Regions from separate parts of the Homo sapiens genome. Here regions 1, 2, 3, 4, 5 and 7 are each linked to region 6. The links are contacts of gene promoters, found by promoter capture Hi-C in blood cells and fetal thymus (Javierre and others, 2016). All regions are on one chromosome and are shown on one strand. Each heading gives the region's core, a stretch centred on a gene start or on the middle of the fragment in contact. The rest is flanking DNA. Distances are from core to core; before and after follow the strand shown.

Region 1 (2,922 bases), core at 186-2,685, 1.7 Mb after region 6:
CTAAGTTGTCTCTGGAGTTCCCCAATGAGCAGACTTAACAGTGTGGCTCAGCAATGTCTCACATTCATCAATTCACTGGATAGCTTAAAGGATTCTTTTCTACTGACCAGAGAGGAGTCAGATCTAAGACACGCCTCCTAAACACAGGAGTGAGAGTGAACTGGAAGACTCATGTGGCCCCCAACCATTATGTTTCCATGGGTTGCTCTCCCAGGTGTGCTCTTTGATGTCGAACAAGGGATGAGCTCTTTTGGAACATTTTTCCACACTGAGGACACCGGCTGGGACCCTCCCTGCTATGGAGTCTCTGATGTACTGCCAGGTGAGAGTTCTGCTTGAAGGACTTCCCACATTCTGGACACTGATATGGGGTCTCCTTAGTGTGAATTCTCTGGTGCTTGGTCAGACAGGAGCTGTCCCTGAAGGCTTTGCCACACTGATTACACTCATAGGGCTTCTCACCAGTATGAGTCCTCTGGTGCCTAATGAGGCCAGCGATATTCCTGAAAAGTTTCTGACACTGGTTGCAGCCATAGGGCTTCTCGCCAGTATGAATCCTCTGATGCCTGATGAGGTACGCACTCTCGATGAAAGTCTTGCCACATTCTTTACATTCATAGGGTTTCTCCCCAGAATGGATCTTTTGATGCACAATGAGGTGAGAGTTTCTGTTGAAGGATTTCCCGCACTCTGCACACTCAAAGGGCTTTTCTCCAGTGTGAGTCCTCTCATGCTGGGTGAGGTACGAGCCGTCCCGGAAAGCCTTTCCACATTTGCTACACTCATAGGGCTTCTCACCGGTGTGGATTCTGAGATGCACTGTAAGGTGGGAGATGTCAGTGAAGGGTTTCCCACATTCGTTACATCTATATGGTTTTTCCCCTGTATGAGTTCTTTGGTGCAAAATTAAGGATGAATTTCGGTTGAAGGTTTTTCCACACTCTAGGCATTCATAAGGTTTCTCGCCTGTGTGAATTCTCTGGTGCTGTGTCAGAGCTGAGCCATCACTGAAAGCTTTCCCACATTTACTGCATTCATAGGGCTTCTCTCCTGTGTGGATTCTTTGATGCACAATCAGGTTGTAGTTCTTGGAGAAGGACTTTCCACACTCATTACAAGTATAAGGCTTCTCTCCGGTGTGAGTTCGGTGATGCAAAACAAGAGAAGAGTTCCGTTTGAAGCATTTGCCACATTCAGTACATCTATATTGTTTCTCTCCAGGGAGATTTCTCTGGTTTTCATTAAGCGATGAGCTCAGAGTAAAGATGTTCTCAAAATTCTTACCTTCATACGATTTCTTGCCTCTTTTCATTATTTTCTGATGACCAAGAGAGGTAAAATGATTAAAAGACTTAACACTTTCAGGGTATTTGTAGGGCTTCTCTCTCACTGGATTTCTTCCATGAATAACTTCCATGGAATGGTTGAAGCCTTTTCCACAGGCATCACTGTCACCAGTTCTCTTATCTGCATAACTTTTAGGATAGCTGGGTAAGGCGGGGTCACAATCCAGACCACTAACATTTGAGTCAGGTGCATGGAAACCATTTGTTGCCAGAACTCTCTGAGACGGTGGAAGGTCTGAGCTTGCAATCAAATGCTCCCCAAAACCAGGATATTCACAAATTGCTTCCTGAGTCCCTGGTTTCTCCAGAGTTAAAGCTGATTGCCTCAAGTGTCCCTCCTGGTTCTCACAGTCCCAACCATCACCTAAACTGGACAAGCAGGGAACTTCCCTTGTGAATCTTTCCACTTCTACATCACAGGGTACTTCTCTCTCAGGAAAATTCCGAGTCGTCATTTTCAATCTCATATCCCAAACTGCAAAAAGAAGAAAAATGCAGACTTAGGTATATGAAGCTTTATCTGTAAGAGAAACAGACAATGATGATGGGCTAGGTGTAAAGATGTGTATTTTTTTACTTGTTTTCTCTTTTAAATTCAAATTTATACAAGGAAGAGGTAAAATCGTAGCCAAGGAATGGAACCAAGAACAGATTCAAAAAGAGCCATGTAGCATTTTCATCTTCCTAGAGAGCAGGCAGGAGGAATGGACCTCGGGATAAATCATCACCAAAAGGATTAGTTTGAGATGTGAGAGACCAGAGGCCAAGCATCCCTGCTCCCCCTAGAATTCCATCCCAGCCACTGCATTCTTGTCCCTGTCACACACTGCCCATCAGTACACATTTCCAAAGCTCTGACTTCACAATGAGCTTACAACAGCACTGAAGGAACAGTTCTCACCCCAGCTCTGTCATCAAAGTTCTGCATTCATGGATAGGACAAAGCACAGGCTTGGTGACCTAAAAGTTCTGGGTCTAAGTCTTAGAACTGTCAATGACCTGGCGGGGCACAGTGGTTCACTCCTGTAATCCCAGCACTTTGGGAAGTGGAGGCAGGTGGATCATTTGAAGTCAGGAGTTCAAGACCAGCCTGACCAACATGGTGAAACACCGTCTCTACTAAAAATACAAAAAAAATCAGCCAGGCGTGGTGGCACATGCCTGTAGTCCCAGCTACTCTGGAGGCTGAGGCAGGAGAATCACTTCAACCTGGTAGGCAGAGGTTGCAGTGAGCTGAGATCACACCACTGCACTCCAGCCTACGCGGCAGAGTGAGACTCCATCTCAAAAAACAAAACAAAACAAAAACTGTCAAAGACTGCCCTGCATGGTTGTTATAAAAACTGGATCATGTCGGCCAGGCGCGGTGGTCACGCCTGTAATCCCAGCACTTTGGGAGGCCGAGGTGGGCAGATCACAAGGTCAGGAGATTGAGACCATCCTGGCTAACGTGGTGAAACCCCGTCTCTACTAAAAAAATACAAACAATTAGCCAGGCGTGGTGGCGGGCGCCTGTAGTCCCAGCTACTCGGGAGGCTGAGGCAGGAGAATGGCGCGAACCCGGGAGGCGGAGCTT
Region 2 (2,789 bases), core at 259-2,758, 1.6 Mb after region 6:
TTATTTCTCATTGTTTAGGATTTTCTTTTTATTATCAAATCTCTGCTATAGAAACACTGAAGAAAATGGGAAAAAAAATCACTGGAGAGGCAGCATAAAATGGTGGCTGAAAACAAGAACTCTGGAGCCAATCTCAGCTCTACTCCCTTACTAGTTGTGCCCCTTAGGTAGGATCCTTCAACATCTCTGCTTCAGCTTAGCCATTTGTAAAACTGGGGTAACAGTACCTATCTCAGAGTAAAGGGGACTAAACAAGTTAACACTTGGAAAGCATTTAAAAGAAAGCCCAGCACATAAGTGTTATATGTATTTGTAAAACTTTTTAAAAATCTCAACTGGGTTAACTTTTCCATGGATCTTTCAGGTCCTTACCCATATACATTTTTTTAGATGTGTTACAGTAAGTATGTATATACAATTCTGTATCCTTTTTATTCCTTCATGTTATGTATACTGATGCAGTGTCCATAATTATAATTTATAGTGATTGCCTAAAACAAATTACAAACTAATTGCCCAACAATGCAGTGATGAGTAACAATGGACGCTGACACACTGGGCTAAGGATCACTTTCTGTCCAGCAACATCAGTCTCACACTCCTAGGCAATAACTTTTCTACCGTTAGTCATCTCATTCATTAATTTTCTCTAAGGAGGTTAATCAACAGTAAATACCCCATTCAATACTATTATTTTTCTTACATTCAGATTTAGCACTTCATATTCTACTCCTGGGCACCCAGACCCTCCCCTTATAACAACAAAATCTGTATTTCTACAATTATGCACAAAATGTTATTGTAGAGTTTTCCATCCAGTACTCCAGCTTGATGCAAAACAGTGTATTTCCAGTCAAAAACTTTTCTCTGCATAAGGTTTTTCCCTTAGCAATTCACACCAATCTACAATTGGTGAGAGCTCTTGCTAAAAGATGCCTCATTCCCCACAGTCATGGTCCTCAAGTATGAATTACTGGTAGACCATAAGGGGAGTTTAGAGTTTCCTTCATTGTTAATTATCTGATTTTGAGTAAGGGCTAAATAACTGCTGAAAGCTTTTCCCTATTCTTTTCCTTCATGGGGTTTCTTCTAAGATGATATTTTCTAGTAAATAATGTGGGAGAAGTCTTACTGAACTCTTAATGAAAAATGTCCCCTCTTGATTATGTTTATAGGGTTTTCCTCAATGTGTTGTCAAATGTACAAGAAACGAAAAACTCGCATAAATTCAATTCAGTTTCTCTTCACTGTGATTTCTCTGGTGTTGAAGTAGGGCTGAGTGACCACTAAAGGCTTTTCCACATTCACTGCATATAAAGCGTTTCTCTCCACTATGCATTCTCTGATGAATAATAAGGGAAGAATTCTTACAAAATGCTTTTTCACAATGATTACATTTGTAGGGCTTTTCTCCAGTATGGTTTCTTAGGTGTACAATAAGGGATGAACTCTCATTAAATGCTTTCCCACATTCATTACACCTGTATGGTTTCTCTCCAGTATGAGTTCTCCGGTGTGCAATGAGGTGAGAACTACAGTTAAAGGATCTTTCACACTGATTACATTTATAGGGTTTCTCACCAGTGTGAATTCTCCGATGAGCAACAAGGTGACAGCTCTGACTGAAGGATTTTCCACATTTATTGCATTCATAGGGTTTTTCTCCAGTATGAGTCCTTTGATGTCTAACAAGGTGAGCCATCTGGCTACAGGATTTTCCACATTTATTACATTCATAGGGCTTAATTCCAGAATGAATTATCTCATGTTTAGTGAGGGCTGAGCGTTCTCTGAATGCTTTGCCACATTCCTGACAGTTATATGGTTTCTCTCCCGTGTGAGTTCTCTGATGGGCAATAAGATGGGAGCTCCAGCTGAAGGATTTTCCACATTCAGTACATTTATATGGTTTTGCTCCAGAATGAGTTCTTTCATGTTTACTAAGGGCTGAGTAGTCCCTAAAAGCTTTTTCACATTCATCACATTTAAAGGGTTTCTCTCCAGTATGCATTCTCATATGGGCAATAAGATGGGAGCTCCAGCTGAATGATTTCCCACATTCAGTACATTCAAAAGGTTTCTCTCCTGTATGAGTCCTCTGATGTCCAATAAGATGAGAGTTCCAGTTGAAAGATTTCCCACACTCATTACAAACATAAGGTTTTTCTCCTGTATGAATTCTCTTATGTACAATAAGATGAGAATTCCAGCTGAAGGCTTTTCCACATTTATTACATTCATAGGGTTTTATTCCAGTGTGAGTCCGTTCATGTTTCGTAAGGGCTGAGCGATTCCTAAAAACTTTTCCACATTTATCACATTCATAGGGTTTTTCTCCAGTATGAGTTTTCTTATGTTGAATAAGGTAAGAGCTCCAGATGAAAGACGTCCCACATTCATTGTAGTCATAGGGTTTCTCTGCAGTGTAAGTGCTTGTATGTTGAGTAAGGAAAGAGTCATACCCAAAGACTTTCTCCCATTCATTGTATTTATACGCTTTCTCTACAGTACCAATTTTTTGATGTTCCATAAAGGATGAGAAATAAAAGATATTCTCATATTCTTTGTAATTATACTGGTTTTCTCCAACATGAAGCCTTGGGTGTTCATTAAATGATGGGCTCTGGTTAAAGATTTGATGGCATTCCTTATATTCATAGAGTTTTTCTCCTGTGTGAATTCCTTTATGATCACCAAAATGTATTATATGATTGAAAGATTTAACAGCATCAGTACATTTGAAAAGATTATCTCCAGTTTGTATTCTTGCAGGGTAAATAGGTTGAATG
Region 3 (2,916 bases), core at 239-2,738, 1.6 Mb after region 6:
TTGACCAGGCACCTGCCCAGGAACACAGCAAATCCCAACCTAGTGACAAAAGTGAAAAAAGACAAAACTAGTCCTTTCTCACAGAAGACCAAGTGGGAACAAAGAAGGGAATCCATCCACCGAAGCAACAAAAAAACTTGTAAGGAGCATCGTAAGAAAAGAGAATTTACATGTCAAAAAAGTAACACAATTCCTGGAGAGAAATGAAAGGTAATTTGCATAAGCTGGAAAAAAGAGCATGATCCTGAATGAGAGGGTACAAATTTGTCAGCTATTCCCAAGAGACAGCCAGTCACAACACAGATGGAACTTTTGGATTAATCTGACAATTATTGTAAAATCAACTTGCAATCCTCATATATTAGTGGTTGCCTAGAGCTGGGGGAAAAATGAAATGGGGAGTGACTGCTTAAGGGGAACAAGGGTTTCTTTGTGGGGTGATGAAATGTTCTAAAATTAGATAATGGGGATGATTGCACAACTTTATTAATATACAATAAAACCGGTGAATTGCACACTTTTAAGTGCTTAAAGTGAACATTATGTTATGCAAATTTAATCCCACCTCCAAAAAAAATTCACCTCCAAGATTTACTAAGCCTAAGCTTGTGTGTGTGTGGAGGACTTAGAGATGGGCCTGGCGCCCAGACCCCTAACTCCTCAGGTTCCAGATCTTTGTACAAGTCAGCAACCTCTCGAATGGATTCCTGGGTATGTGTATAAAGCACTAGAACACACAGTGGGCCTCAGGAGCACCGGAATCAGCGCGAAAACGCAGAATGCAAACCGTACTTTGCACCATTATTTGCAACTTGACAGTGACCGCCGCCGTCACTGCATGTTTAAGGGAACCCGGAGCTGTTTCCAACCCAGGTCTGACGTCCTTCACAGTGCTTTGTGTGAACTGGCAGGGGGAGAAACGACGGCTGGGGAACGAACGGGGTTATTCGTCCCATCAATGGCCTCAGAAGCATCCTTATCACCTGCTTCCAGAGCTCCCGACCCAAATTTCCTCCTCAAGACCGACGCGGCCGCGACGCTGCAAAAGCTCGTCCCGGCCTCACCTGGCTCGCGGCCGGCGGTCCCCCTTGAAGGCGGCGCAGCAGGATCGGGGTCTGCCCGCCTGGGGCGTTTGGCTTTTGTCCCGCGCCGAGGTCCGGCCCAGGAGTGCGCTTGGGAGCTCCCGGCGCGGCCTCGGGGACAAAGGCCCGCGGAGCCGACGTGCAGCAGAGTTCACCCAGGCCCGTCCGACCAGAAAACGAAGAACGCCCGGAGGCGGGAGGCCGGAGGCAGGCTGCTGGCTGGAGAACCGACGGCAACGACGGCGCAAAGCCGGCGCGGAAAGGGCAGGCGCAGGACCCACCCTGACGCCGCCTCTCCCAGCCGGCTCTCCTGACCCCCCAAGCCCCGCAGCTACGGCGGCCCCACAGCCTGAGCAAAGGCCTCACCTCAGCCGCGGACAATGGCGGCTGCTTCCCCGGCGTCGACCGGAGCGCGCCGCGGGGTCTGCTGGGAGCTGTAGTTCCAGGCGGGCACTTCCGGCGTCGGGCAGCGGCGCCGCCATGACAGGTTCCTGGGCCGCGCCGCCTCGCCCTGCCTGGGCGGGGTTGGGACCTTTCTGGCACCTGCGTCGAAGCCGGCGGCAGGATGGACTTTGTTGTCCCGGTCCCAGACCACCCTCCTCCACCGTCGCCTCCCACTGCAAAAAGGCCTGGGTAAGTCGCGGCCCCGCGGGCCTCGGTTTGCCCATCCGCAAAATGGCGCCTCGTGGTACCGGGTTTCCCGGGAGGAGCTCGGCGAGTTCTCAGCGCTCTCGAGGGATCCTTCCATTTGGCGTTCGCAAGATTGTGAGAAAGTGACTGCTGTTATTCTCTTTAAGATAAGGAACCTAATTCGAGCTACCCTTCTCTGTGAAGCTCGACGGCTGAGAACGTCAGGGCTCGTTCCCAAGTCTCTTTCCAGAGGCCAGGCTTTATGGGAGCATGGGTTACCAGCGACGCACCCTGTGAGTTTTCCTCTATCGATATGCATGGAGCGGTTCGGGAGCGGTGGCTCATTCCTGTAGTCCCAGCACTTCGGGAAGCTGTGGCGGGAGGATCAGTTGAGTTCAGGAGTTCGACACCACCCTGGGCAACATAGCGAGACCACATCTCTACAAAAAAAATACAAAAATTAGCCCGGTGTGATGGCGCGCGCCTGTAGTCCCCGCTACTTAGGAGGTTGCGGTGGAAGGATTGCTTGAGCCTGGGAGGTCAAGGTTGCAGTGAGCTATGATCGCACCACTGCACTTCAGCCTGGGCAACAGAGCAAGACCCGGCATTAAAACAAACAAAAACGGGCCGGGCGCGGTGGCTCACAGCTGTAATCCCAGCACTTTGGGAGGCCAAGGCAGGTGGATCGCCTGAGGTCAGGAGTTCCGAGACCAGTCTGGGCAACATGATAAAACCTCGTCTCTACTAAAAATACCAAAAATTAGCCGGGCTTGGTGGAGGGCACCTGTACCCAGCTACTTGGGAGGCTGAGGCAGGAGAATCGCTTGAACCCGGGAAGCGGAGGCTACAGTAAGCCGAGATCAAGCCATTGCACTCCAGCCTGGGCAGCAGGGCAAGACTCTGTCTCAAAAAAAGGGACTGAGGGACTGTAGGTGGTGATACCAAAGAAAGCATGGCCATTTAGGAAGCTAGACTTGAGTGAGCAGTGGGCAAGAGAGATTTTGAAGATATTTCCACTAGTAATGGAGGATCATTTTAAAAAGCTGGCCTGTGGGTTGGGCTTTTGTTGTTGGGTGGTGTTGGCACTCACTGTGGGTGGGCAAAGGGGAGTAGCCCTTTCAGAGGGAGAGGAAAAGTTCAAGTAGGACAGGCTGAATTCAAGGGAGAGGAAAATTTCAAGTAGGACAGGCTGAATTCGAGGGAG
Region 4 (2,921 bases), core at 394-2,893, 1.8 Mb after region 6:
TTTTGTGTGTGTTTTTTGTGGAGACGGGGTTTCACCATGTTGGCCAGGCTGGTCTGGAACTCTTGACCTAAGGTGATCCGACCATCTCGGCCTCCCAAAGGTCTATGCAGGGATCAGGCTTATGTTTAGATTTCAGCAGATAAATTGGCATCAAGCAAGAGGTGACAGCAGCAGAGTTCAATAACAAGTAGAAAAGACAGGTGAGGATGGATCCCTGACAGGTGAAGGAGATAGAAAGAAGCATCAGGGCCCTGGGTAGGGGCTGACGGCTTGGGTGTGATGGTGCAGCTCAGAGAATTCCCTAGGAGGCATACGCACCACTCCCAAAGTCAGAATTTTCAAATGAATAAGAAATAGGGGGCCGGGCGCGGTGGCTCACGTCTGTAATCCCAGCACTTTGGGAGGCCGAGGCAGGTGGATCACGAGGTCAGGAGATTGAGACCATCCTGGCTAACATAGTGAAACCCCGTCTCTACTTAAAAAAATACAAAAAATTAGCCGGGCGTGGTGGCGGGCGCCTGTAGTCCCAGCTACTCGGGAGGCTGAGGCAGGAGAATGGCGTGAACCGGGGAGGCGGAGCTTGCAGTGAGCCGAGATGGCGCCACTGCACTCCAGCCTGGGCGACAGAGAGAGACTCCGTCTCAAAAAAAAAAGAAAAGAAAAATAGGGCCGGGTGCGGTGGCTCACATGTGTAATCCCAGCACTTTGGGAGGCCGAGGCAGGCAGATCACAAGGTCAGGAGTTCGAGACCAGCTTGACCAACATGGTGAAACCCCATCTCTACTAAAAATACAAAAATTAGCCGGGCATGGTGGTATGCGCCTGTAATCCCAGCTACTCAGGAGGCTGAGGCAGGAGAATCGCTTGAACCTGGGAGGTGGAGGCTGCAGTGAGCCAAGATTGCGCCACTGCACTCCACTAGGAGACAGAGTGAGACTCTGTCTCAAAACAATAAATAAATAAATTAAATAAATAAATAAATAAATAAAATGGACAGATTTTCATATGCTACAGAGATCTCATGTGTTGCTCTCCTTATTGTAACCTGAATAGAGTCAAGCTTGGGTTTGCTTGGGGTTTCAGACAAAGACAGGAACTCAGGATGAGACTCCCAAAATGCCCTTGGGTCATCTTGTAGACCATTCTGTGCTTTCACTGGCCTGGTCAGCCTCCCCTGTCTTTCTTTTGTCGTGGATGCGGATGGCCTGTGGCTGAACAAGAATCTGGATTTTTAGGAACCAGTGACCTTTGAAGATGTAACACTGGGTTTTACCCCGGAAGAGTGGGGACTGCTGGACCTCAAACAGAAGTCCCTGTACAGGGAAGTGATGCTGGAGAACTACAGGAACCTGGTCTCAGTGGGTAAGGCTGGCCTCCAGGTCAAGAAGGATCTGTGCTTTGTAGCACAAATGTAGCACCTCTGAAGTATGTGTCTGCTTGGGCTCACACTGCAGGGGCACCAGTAGGAAAAGGGCAGCTTTTCAGTATGACTTCTGAATCATTGCCTAGTCCATCCCTCCCTGAATACCAGGGAGATGGGTCTGTCAGGGATGTTTTCAGCTGCAGTAGTGGATGCTTATTGTTCTTGCAACAAGAGTTCCGGCCAGGCATGGTGGCTCACTTTAGGAGACTGAAGCAGGAGGATTGCTTGAGCCCAGGAGTTTGAGACCAGCATGGGCAACATAGACCGTGTCTCTATTAAAAAAAAAAAAAAAAAGAAACTCCACAGAAATTCCAGACAATGCGATGCCAGTGTCCCAACAGCTTAGGAGTAGCATCAAAGAGCCTGTCCCTGCCAGGCACGGTAGCTTACGCCTGTAATCCTGGCACTTTGGGAGGCTGAGGCAGGCAGATCAGTTGAGGTCAGGAGTTCTAGACCAACCTGACCAACATGATGAAACCCTGTCTTTACTAAAAATACAAAAATTAGCCGAGCACCCCAGCTACTCAGGAGGCTGAGCCAGGAGAACTGCTTGAACATGGGAGGTGGAGGAGATTGCAGTGAGCTGAGATCAGATCACAGCACTCCAGCTTGGGCAACTGAGCAAGACTCCGTCTCAAAAAAAAAAAAAAAAAGCCTGTCCCTTCAAACTCTGGTTATTGTGAACCTTTCCATGTTCCCCCTAGTCATTGCACAGCTGTGGCTCCAAGCATTGCATCTGTGTTCAAGGCAGAAACAAGGAGAAGGGGTAGCCCTTTCACAGCTGTCATGTTTAACCAGAAAGCAAAAGCTTTCCCAGCTGACCGATCTCCCTTTGTGTCTGGCTGACCAGAACTGGACCCCTTAGCTGCTTGGCAAAGGAGTCTAGGAAAGCCAACAACAGGGATGGATGGAGTTGTGTTCACTGCTCTAGGCCAGAAGTCATGTGCCTTAGCAGGGGAGAAGCTGGAGACGGCTTGTGCTGCAGTAGGATAGCATTTTCTCCTGAACACAGACCCCCACAAGCCCTGTCTCTTTTCCTTTGAGCAGAACATCAGCTTTCCAAACCAGATGTGGTATCTCAGTTAGAGGAGGCAGAAGATTTCTGGCCAGTGGAGAGAGGAATTCCTCAAGACACCATTCCAGGTGAGAACCAGACATGGGAAGCCCCCACAGGGAAGGGGCCAACTGATGAGTCAGGGACCAGTATCTTGGAAAAGCAGTAGACATTGGGATACCCCAGGTGGGATGCTGTGATGAGCAGTTGCAGAACCAAACTCGAAGTTTTTCTCTGGCTCCACAGTCAGCAGTGTCCTACTTGGTTGAAAGTGAACCTGTTGCTGGTGGCAGGTGATACTTGTGTTGACAGTAGGGGCTCCCTTAGTCTGTTACACGCATTGTCTACTGCCCTCCCCTCATAATCACTGGTAACCCTGGTGTGTATTTCCAGCCAGACTTTCTTATATAGGCTTACGTGAATGTATGTGAATATATATACACA
Region 5 (2,700 bases), core at 9-2,508, 1.7 Mb after region 6:
CGCTCGGGGGCAGACCAAGACGCCCTGGGGTCCCCGAAACAGAGATGTACAGAGTCGGACACGGAAAGGGAGAGACCAGCTCACGGTTAAGAAAGGAGGGAGACCAGCCCAGGATCAAGAAAGGGAAAGACCAGCATGGGCTCAAGAAAAGAAAGAGACCAGCTCAGGCTCAGGAAAAGAGAGAGACCCAGAGAAAAGGAGCACTCGAGGCTGAGACAGATCTGGACAGAGATACAGAGACAGGGACCAGCAGACCCAGTACTGGGGAGACAAGAGGTGGAGACCCAGAGACACTGATGCGCTAAAATGGGTTCTACAGTTTCAAGGAGTGGATAGAACTCAAAGATTACCCACCCCAGGGATTCAGGAGCTGCTGAAATGAGGGAAATGTGAGTGGCAGCTGGGGTGAGGGCTTTGGCAAAGCCCCATATAAATGTAGCCCCCCTGGAAGGCAGGATAGGGCCAGGAGCTGCTTCCCATTTCAGTTTTCCAGATAGAGGCGCTTATGAGGATGCCATTTTGGTCGTTTTTGTGTGAACTGATTTTTAAAATGTATATCTGAACAGTTTATATATTTTAAATTTACATACACCACACATTTTGGTATTCAGTTTTATGAATTTTAACTCATATCCACCAACAAACTCGGGACAAAGAATAGCTCCACTGCCCAAAAATCCTCCTGCTGCCTCTTGGTAGTCACTCCCTCCCCACCCATAACCCCAGGAACAGCTAATCTAAGTAGTCCACTGCTACAATTTTGCCTTCACAGTGTCATATAAGTGGGATCATACAGTATGTGGCCTCTTCAGATTGGCTTTTTCACTGAACATAATTCCTTTGAGAGGCATTGAAGTAGTATGTATCAACAGTTCATTCCATTTTATTGAGAAGTAGTATTCTATGGTATATAGCAGTTTAAACCTTCTCCCACTGAGAGATATTAGGATCGTTTTAAGTATTTTGCTATTAAAAATAAAGCTGCTATGAACATTCGTGTACAGATTTTTCTGTGAACGTAAGTTTTCACTTTTCTGGGATAAAAGCCCAAGAGTGCAGTTTCTAGGTCACACAATGAACACGTGCTTATTAGTGTTGTAAGAAGCTGCCACACTCTCATGCAGAGTAGCTGGACCATTTTACACTCCCACCACCAATGAATGTGTGAATCCACTTCACATTTTTATCAGCATTTGTGTTTTGCTATTTTTTATTTTGGCCATTCTGATAGGTATGTACTGATATATCATTGTGGTTTCAATTTGCATTTCCCTTAATTGCTAACAAGTTTGAGCACACTTTAATGATTTTTTTGGCATTTGTATACCCTCTTCATTAAAGTATCTGTTCGTATCTTTTGCCCATTTTCTAATTTTTAAAAAAATTGCTCAGTTTTGAAAGCTATGTTTTTTTTTTTTTTGAGACAAGGTCTCACTCTGTCACTGAGGCTAGAGTGCAGTGGTGCCATCATGAATCACTGCAGCCTTGACCTTCCAGGCTCAAGTGATCCTCACCTCAGCCTCCCGAGTAGCTGGAACTACAGGTGTGCGCTACCATACCCAGCTAATTTTTTTTTTTAAGAGATGGGGTCTCACTATAATGCTAAGGCTGGTCTCAGACCCCCGGGCTCAAGCAATCCTCCCACCATGGCCTCCCAAAGTGCTGGGATTACAGGCATGAGCCACCATGCCCAGTCTTTCCAGTTTATTTTAATGGATATAACTCAGGAACTGCCAAATGGAAGAGATGCACAGCTAAGGTCTGGTCAGGGGCACTGAAGGTGCAGTGCATCCATGTACCGTCTGGGTGAGCCATCCTCCCAGCACTCAGATGTGTTCACCAACCCAGCTCTCTCAATCGTGGGGCAGAGAGAGGGTCCATACCTTCTTTAAGGTGACTATCCCCATCCTGAAGATATCTATGGGTCCCACTGGAGTCACCTCATTAGCATAAACTCAGGTGTGGTCGAAACGGGCTCCTTATGAATTGCAAACCCTATTCCTATTATTCACAAAATTCCAAGGCTTTTAGCTCTGTGCCAGGAACCAGGGATAAAGATCAAATGTAAGGGCCAGGCGCGGTGGCTCATGCCTGTAATCCCAGCACTCTAGGAGGCCAGCGGGCGGATCACGAGGTCAACATGGTGAAACCCTGGCTCTACTAAAAATACAAAAATTAGCCAGGCATGGTGGCAGGTGCCTGTAATTGCAGCTGCTCGAGAGGCTGAGGCAGCTTGAAACTGGAAGGCAGGGGCTGCAGTGAGTTGAGATCGCACCACTGCACTCCAGCCTGGGCAAAAGAGCAAAACTCCATCTAAAAAAAAAAAGAAAAAAGATGAAATGTAGGTTTTATTACACCACAGATGGCCAATTGTTCTTGCACCATCTGGAAAAGGCTATCTTTCCTGCATTGAATAGCTTTTGCTCCTTAAAAAATCAGTCAGGAATATCTTTGCAGGTCTATTTCCGGGTTCTCGATTCCGTTCCACTGATCTATGTGTCTGCCAATACCACATTGGGTTACCACGGCTACAGAGTAACAACATCAGGTGCAGTTATTCCTCCCACTTTTTTTTTTTTTTTTTTTTTTTTTGAGACAGAGTCTTGCTCAGTTGCCCAGGCTGGAGCGCAGTGGCGCGATCTCGGCTCACCGCAAGCTCCACCTCCCGGGTTCACGCCATTCTCCTGCCTCAGCCTCCCG
Region 6 (2,831 bases), core at 269-2,768:
TATATTTGATCTTCCTAGCATAGAACTTCTAAAATCCTTAGAAACTACAAAGTAACAGTAAAAACTCATTTTGTATGCTAATGAGTTGACAGCTGGCAACCCCTATAGAGTTTCAGGATGGGGACTGGTTATGGAAAGACCAAGACATGACTAGAAGGTTGGGACATTCAACCCCACCCCCAACCCTAAGGAGGGGACGGGATTTTAATCAACCATGCCTATGTAATGAAGCCTCTGTAAAACTCCCAAAAGACAGGGTTTAGAGAGCTTCCACCCAGCTGAACATGTGGAGGTTACTGGAAGGTGCAACACCCTTTTTTCTGTACTTTGCCCTACGCATCTCTTCATCTATATCATTTGTAATATCCTTTATAATAAACTAGTAAACATAAGTGTTTCCTGAGTTCCGTGAGCCACTCTAGCAAAATATCGAACCGCAAAGAGGGGGTGGTGAAAATCCCAATTTGAAGGTGGTGGAGTCAGATGTTCCAGAGGCTAGACTTTAGTGGGAAGTGGGAAGGGGGAGGCAGGCTTGGGGACTGAGCCCTCAGCGAATGGTGTCTGACCCATCTCCAAGTAGACGGCGTCGGAATTAAACTGGAGGACACCCAGCTGGTGCCCGCTGCAGAACTCACTGAACTCATTGCTTGCTTGAGATGTGTGGGAAACTCCCCTATATTTGGTCAGAAAAGTCTTCTGTTATGATTAGTTGTCGTTGAGATAATAGAAAAAAATGCACCTTGCGTTTTTTCCACTGATTCAGAGGGCATAACTGAAAGAATGAAGAACTGAAAGAATGATCTTAATACTCTGCTTCGCTTTTCTTGATAATACGCATTACTTCCCAATATGCATCAGTGTCCTTTATTATTAATTTTTTCCTATTGAATTCCTCCCGCATTAGAATGCTGCTCCATGAGGTGGGGATTTTGTCTGCTTGTTCACTGCTGTGTGCCCAGGGCCCACGACAGTGCCCGATACAGCAGGCGCTCAATAAGTGGCGAATGAAAGACAGGGCAAGGCGGAGAGAGAAGAAACAGAAAGGGAAAGAGAAAGCCCGGGCCGCCAGAGCGCTTAATCACACGTACATCCTACCGGGCCCCTCTCCAGCTGGCTCAGGCTCCACACTGGTCCTCCAGCTCCCTTTTCTCAGCGATGGACTCACAGCCCCACCCGGAGCGCTGGAGCGCGGACGCGGTCACTGCGCGTGCGCCTCACCGCGCTGGCACCCCGGCCTGGCAGCCTTTGGGGACCTGAACCAGCTGCGCCTGCGCAGGTGGAACGGGTGGAACGGGTGGGGGAGCGGACAGTCGAACGGCCTGAGAGGGCTCAGCTGGTCCGGGTGGGATTCTGAAGGCCAGCGGAGGTGGGCTTACTAGGGAAAGGGGCGCAGCAGTAACTACCCGCAACTGAGCGGCGGGATCTGCGGCCGCCCGGGGCCCTCGGCCAACATCCCAGCATCCTCTGCGCCGCGCCGGCCCCGGACTCCATTTCCCAGCGGCCCCTGCGGCCTGCCCTAGGGCTGCGGCGCCTTTGTGAGCGCGGCCGCCGGCCAGGATCGAGCCCTGGCCCGGGCCCTGGCCCAGCCCCGGCCTCCAAGGACCGCGCCGAAGGAGGTGCCCACTGGAGGGAGGAGGCGGTGAGGAGCGCGGGATGGAGCTGACGCCGGGAGCGGCCATGCCACCATGTGTGGGACCGTGTGTGACAGTGTGTGAGAATGTGTGAGACATTAAGGAACCGTGTGTGACAATGTGTTTGACAGTGTGGAATCGTGTGTGAGACCATGTGTGACTGTGTGAGAATTTGAGACCGTGTGTGACAGTGTGAGAATGTGAGGCCGTGTGTGAATATGTGTGTCAGTGTGAGACCATGTGGGACAAATGTGGGACTATGTGTGACAGTATGAGACTGGGTGTGAGAATGTGTGCGACAGTATGAGACCGTTGCCCCGGTGTATGCGGGAGCCTTTGACAGTATATGGGACCGTGTGGGACTGTGTGACACTGTATGTGCTTAAGACCACGTCACCATGTGTGAGACTGGGAATGTGTGACAGTGTTAAACTGTCATTATGTGTAGACCACGTGTGAACAGTGTGTAAGACCATGTCACTGTGTGTGTGACCTGTGTGTGTGGGATAATGTAAGACTGTGTGACAGTGTGTGTGACTTTGTGAACAGAGCTTGACCGTGTGTGTAGGATTAGATGAGACTGTGACAGTATGTGAGACCATGTCACCGTGTGTGAGGCTATGTGTGGTTGTGTACGGTGTGTGGCTGTTGATATGGGACCACATGAAACTGCGACAGAATTTGTGTGACAGTGTGTGAGACTGTGTCACTGTATGTGAAACTGTATGTGAACAGAGTTTTTGTTGTTGGACTAAGATTGTATGTGACAGTGTTTGAGATTGTGCATGACAGTGTGTGTGATTATGTGAGACTGAGGGAGATGGTGTGACTTAGCACTGTATGTCATCCCGACAGTGAGTGTGACAGTGTGACTGAGAATGGCCTTATATGACCCATTGTGAGAGCAGGGCGGGCTACAATGTGGGGGCATGTCCATAGGTTGCCAGGGGAGGTGCCAGAATGAGAAACTATGTGGTTTGTTGTCTGTGATTTGTGTGGGCAGGAAGCTGTGTGGGTGCTTGGAGATGCTGGTGTGCTCTGGGGTTTGGGAGACTGCTGTTGTGGTGGAGAGACAGAAAGATTGAGATAAAGGGGAAAAGATGGAGAAAGGGAGGGACGAGAGCTGAAAAGGGAGAGACAGACAGGAGCCTCAGCCTTAAGCCTGAAAAGCTGACCACGCTGGCTGCTTGTCCTCTGGCA
Region 7 (2,700 bases), core at 68-2,567, 1.4 Mb after region 6:
ATGGATTTAAGGCACTTGAAATATCTCAGTGTAAAAGCACCCTGTGCATGTAGCAGGACGAGCCGCAGACAAAACCTCTCAGACACCGAGTTGCAGAAGGAAGGGCTTTATTCAGCTGGGAGCATTGGCCAGCTACTGTCTCAAAATCTGAGCTCCCGGAGTGCACAATTTCTGTCCCTTTTAAGGGCTCACAACACTAAAGATTTCACATGAAAGGGTCGTGATTGATTTGAGCAAGCAAGGGGTATGTGACAGGGGCTGCATGCACCGGTGGTCAGGGAGGAACAGAACAGGGCAGGGAGTTTCACAATGTTCTTCTATACAATCTAAGGAATCTATGAATAACATCGGCTTCTAAATCATAAGTTGATTTTTAACTACTGGGTTTAGGCCAGGCGGGCCTAGGCCTGGTTTCGGGCCTGGCGCGGGGTTGCCTGTCTTTGGTTTTACTTCCTTGTTGTTTTTACTGAATATAAAACAATGTGAGAGGGTCTCTCTCTTCTCTCATGCATACATACTCCATGTTTGAACACCGCAGCCATTGTCCTGTAACATAATAGCATTTGTCTCATTAGCTTTTTGATGTTGATATCAGATTTCTAGAGGAATCTGTAGGTTAAAGATATAAATAAAAGTGTTGCTAATGGGCTGAGAACGGTGGTTCACGCCTGTAATCCTAGCACTTCGGTAGACCATTGCAGGCAGATCACTTGAGGCCAGAAGTTCGAGACCAGCCTGGCCAAAATGAGGAAACCCCGTCTCTACTAAAAATACAAAAATTAGCAGGGTATGGTGGCACACGCCTGTAATCCCAGCTACTCGGATGGTTGAGGCACGAGAATCGCTTGAACCCGGGAGGCATAGGCTGCAGTGAGCCAAGATCACACCACTGCACCCCAGCCTGAGTGACAGAGAGAACTATGTCTTAAAAAAAAGACAAAAAAAAAAAAAAAAGGAAGAAGCCGAGCATCACAAATTCTGAAATAAGAAGTCTCCAAACACGCGGGCAATCAGTTGCACACAGTACCCCCAGAAATGTGCGTATGGCCTCTTCTAAGATGGGAGACCCTCCTCCGCATCTGGACCTGGAGTCGCCATTTCCTAGCGCCCCTCGCAGTGGAGCTTGCCCCTTTCTTCGGAAAGTCGGAAGAAAGCCACCTTAAGCGCTGCCCATGTCTGGGAACTACATTACCCAGAATCCGCCCTGCGAAATGGTAACGTGGCTGAGCCAATGAAGCTTCAGAGAAGCCGTGCCATTGCCGGGGCACGTAAAGTCAAGCCAGGACTTCCGGCGTCCTAGCCGTGGCAGCCATTTTGGCCTGTCAGGTCCATCCGGCGATGCTGGGTCTGGACGAGCTCGGGAGGAGTGGTTGTGGCCATTGCACACAGGCGGATCTGAGGTTCGGCGACGCCGCTGGTCGCGACCCGGGACAGGACAACGACAGGAACACCGCCGAGCCCGCGTTCCCCCCCCGCCCAGAGTCATGGCGGCAGCAGCCGCTCTGAGGGCGCCTGCTCAGGTGAGCGCTGCGACCTCCGGGCCTTACCCACCCTACCCACCCAGACCCTGAGGCCCCTGATCGTGAGGGCCGCCTCCTCGCGTCCCTGCAGCCCAGGCCTCTGTCAGGGACGGAGAGGCGCCGGCGGGTGGGATCCCTGTTTCCGACACCCAGTTGATGCGGTCGGCAGAGCGAGACTGGCGGAGGGCAAAGGCCTGCAGGCGCGACTGAGGCAGGAGGATGCGGAACACGGGGACATCGTGTGTCTACTGGGAAAGAAGTGTGATACGGAGTTATTTCTTTTTTTTTTTTTTTTTGAGACGGAGTCTCACTCTGTCGCCCAGGCTGGAGTGCAGTGGCGCGATCTCGGCTCACTGCAAGCTCCACCTCCCCGGTTCAAGCGATTCTCCTGCCTCAGCCTCCCGAGTAGCTGGGATTACAGGCATGCGCCACCACGGGGTTTCACCATGTTGGCTAGGCTGGCCTCGAACTCCTGACCTTAGGTGATCCGCCCACCTCGGCCTCCCAAAGTGCTGGGAATACAGGCGTGAGCCACCGCGCCTGGCCGAGGCGGAGTTGTTTCTTCAGTACCAGGCTGAGGGTTGAACTTTGACTGTGAGGACGCTAAAAGCCATGGACAGTTTTGAACAAAGGAGGAAATCTGTGTTAGAGTTGCGATTCCCAAAAGATGTTCGAAGGAAGAACAGAGTTGAAGGCAGTGATGAGGACATTGAGAGGTTGAATCATTGAGAGGTGACATTGAGCACTGGGCCACAAGATTAGAGACTCAGTCTGAAGTCATCTGGCTGCAGGGCCAAAAAAAGCTTACAGAGAAGCCTGAGTCTATCAAATCCGAGCACAGACACATTTGTGAAAGCCCTGCCTTTTGGCACACCTCATGGCTACAGAAGCACTTACAGAATCCACAGTAGGAAGTAGGGGATGCTCTAGTCCTTCACTGGTCCTCATCCTATCCCACATGTCTAGATCTTGGCATCTTTTTTTTTTTTCGGCGACGGGTTCTCACTCAACACCCAGGCTGGGTTGCGGTGACGCGATCACGGCGCAGCACGGCCTCGACCTCTCCGGGCTCAGGAGAGCCTCTCATCTCAGTCTCCCGAGTAACTGGCTTTTTGTATTTTTAGTAGAGGTGGGGTTTCACGGCCGGGCGCGGTGGCTCACGCCTGTAATCCTAGCACTT

What was found. Contacts are between HindIII fragments. The CHiCAGO score rates a contact against its expected background, and 5 or more counts as called.
Region 1: a fragment that was not itself captured here is called in contact with the fragment with the promoter of ZNF583 in region 6 in 5 of 17 cell types (activated CD4 T cells, naive CD8 T cells, total CD4 T cells and 2 more); the score reaches 7.7 in activated CD4 T cells.
Region 2: a contact is called between a fragment that was not itself captured here and the fragment with the promoter of ZNF583 in region 6, in 1 of 17 cell types (non-activated CD4 T cells). The highest score is 5.1, in non-activated CD4 T cells.
Region 3: a contact is called between the fragment with the promoter of ZNF606 here and the fragment with the promoter of ZNF583 in region 6, in 1 of 17 cell types (neutrophils). The highest score is 7.7, in neutrophils.
Region 4: a contact is called between a fragment that was not itself captured here and the fragment with the promoter of ZNF583 in region 6, in 4 of 17 cell types (total CD4 T cells, activated CD4 T cells, naive CD8 T cells and 1 more). The highest score is 7.2, in total CD4 T cells.
Region 5: a contact is called between a fragment that was not itself captured here and the fragment with the promoter of ZNF583 in region 6, in 1 of 17 cell types (non-activated CD4 T cells). The highest score is 6.4, in non-activated CD4 T cells.
Region 7: the fragment with the promoter of ZNF586 here is called in contact with the fragment with the promoter of ZNF583 in region 6 in 5 of 17 cell types (non-activated CD4 T cells, naive CD8 T cells, total CD4 T cells and 2 more); the score reaches 11.5 in non-activated CD4 T cells.

What each region holds. Positions count from the first base shown.
Region 1 is chr19:58,127,691-58,130,612 of GRCh38, forward strand. ZNF329 (zinc finger protein 329) reads right to left here. Exons shown (of 4, transcript NM_024620.4): 4 at 1-1,821. The coding sequence starts at 1,813. The coding sequence ends at 188. Among named protein-coding and RNA genes, the nearest start is that of ZNF329, 22 kb to the right of the region's middle. The HindIII fragment of the contact is 846 bases long and covers 1,013-1,858 here.
Region 2 is chr19:57,977,073-57,979,861 of GRCh38, forward strand. ZNF606 (zinc finger protein 606) reads right to left here. Exons shown (of 7, transcript NM_001348022.3): 7 at 4-2,789. The coding sequence ends at 1,229. Among named protein-coding and RNA genes, the nearest start is that of C19orf18, 3.9 kb to the left of the region's middle. The HindIII fragment of the contact is 910 bases long and covers 1,054-1,963 here.
Region 3 is chr19:58,001,332-58,004,247 of GRCh38, forward strand. It overlaps ZNF606 (zinc finger protein 606), which reads right to left and starts at 1,489. Exons shown (of 7, transcript NM_001348022.3): 1 at 1,065-1,489; 2 at 1-39. It overlaps ZNF606-AS1 (ZNF606 antisense RNA 1), which reads left to right and starts at 1,563. Exons shown (of 4, transcript NR_036508.1): 1 at 1,563-1,715; 2 at 1,880-2,005. RefSeq lists an enhancer at 1,421-1,840. The HindIII fragment of the contact is 14,498 bases long and covers 604-2,916 here.
Region 4 is chr19:58,184,477-58,187,397 of GRCh38, forward strand. It overlaps ZNF274 (zinc finger protein 274), which reads left to right. Exons shown (of 8, transcript NM_133502.3): 3 at 1,236-1,362; 4 at 2,471-2,566. Among named protein-coding and RNA genes, the nearest start is that of ZNF274, 2.9 kb to the left of the region's middle. The HindIII fragment of the contact is 1,171 bases long and covers 1,059-2,229 here.
Region 5 is chr19:58,098,559-58,101,258 of GRCh38, forward strand. It overlaps a transcript of ZSCAN18 not described here. Among named protein-coding and RNA genes, the nearest start is that of ZSCAN18, 1.7 kb to the left of the region's middle. The HindIII fragment of the contact is 7,928 bases long and covers 1-2,700 here.
Region 6 is chr19:56,402,814-56,405,644 of GRCh38, forward strand. It overlaps ZNF583 (zinc finger protein 583), which reads left to right and starts at 1,519. Exons shown (of 5, transcript NM_152478.3): 1 at 1,519-1,639. RefSeq lists an enhancer at 943-1,082 and a silencer at 1,543-1,752. The HindIII fragment of the contact is 8,045 bases long and covers 1-2,831 here.
Region 7 is chr19:57,768,359-57,771,058 of GRCh38, forward strand. It overlaps ZNF586 (zinc finger protein 586), which reads left to right and starts at 1,318. Exons shown (of 3, transcript NM_017652.4): 1 at 1,318-1,520. The coding sequence starts at 1,485. RefSeq lists enhancers at 1,042-1,581, 1,303-1,552. The HindIII fragment of the contact is 1,086 bases long and covers 1,236-2,321 here.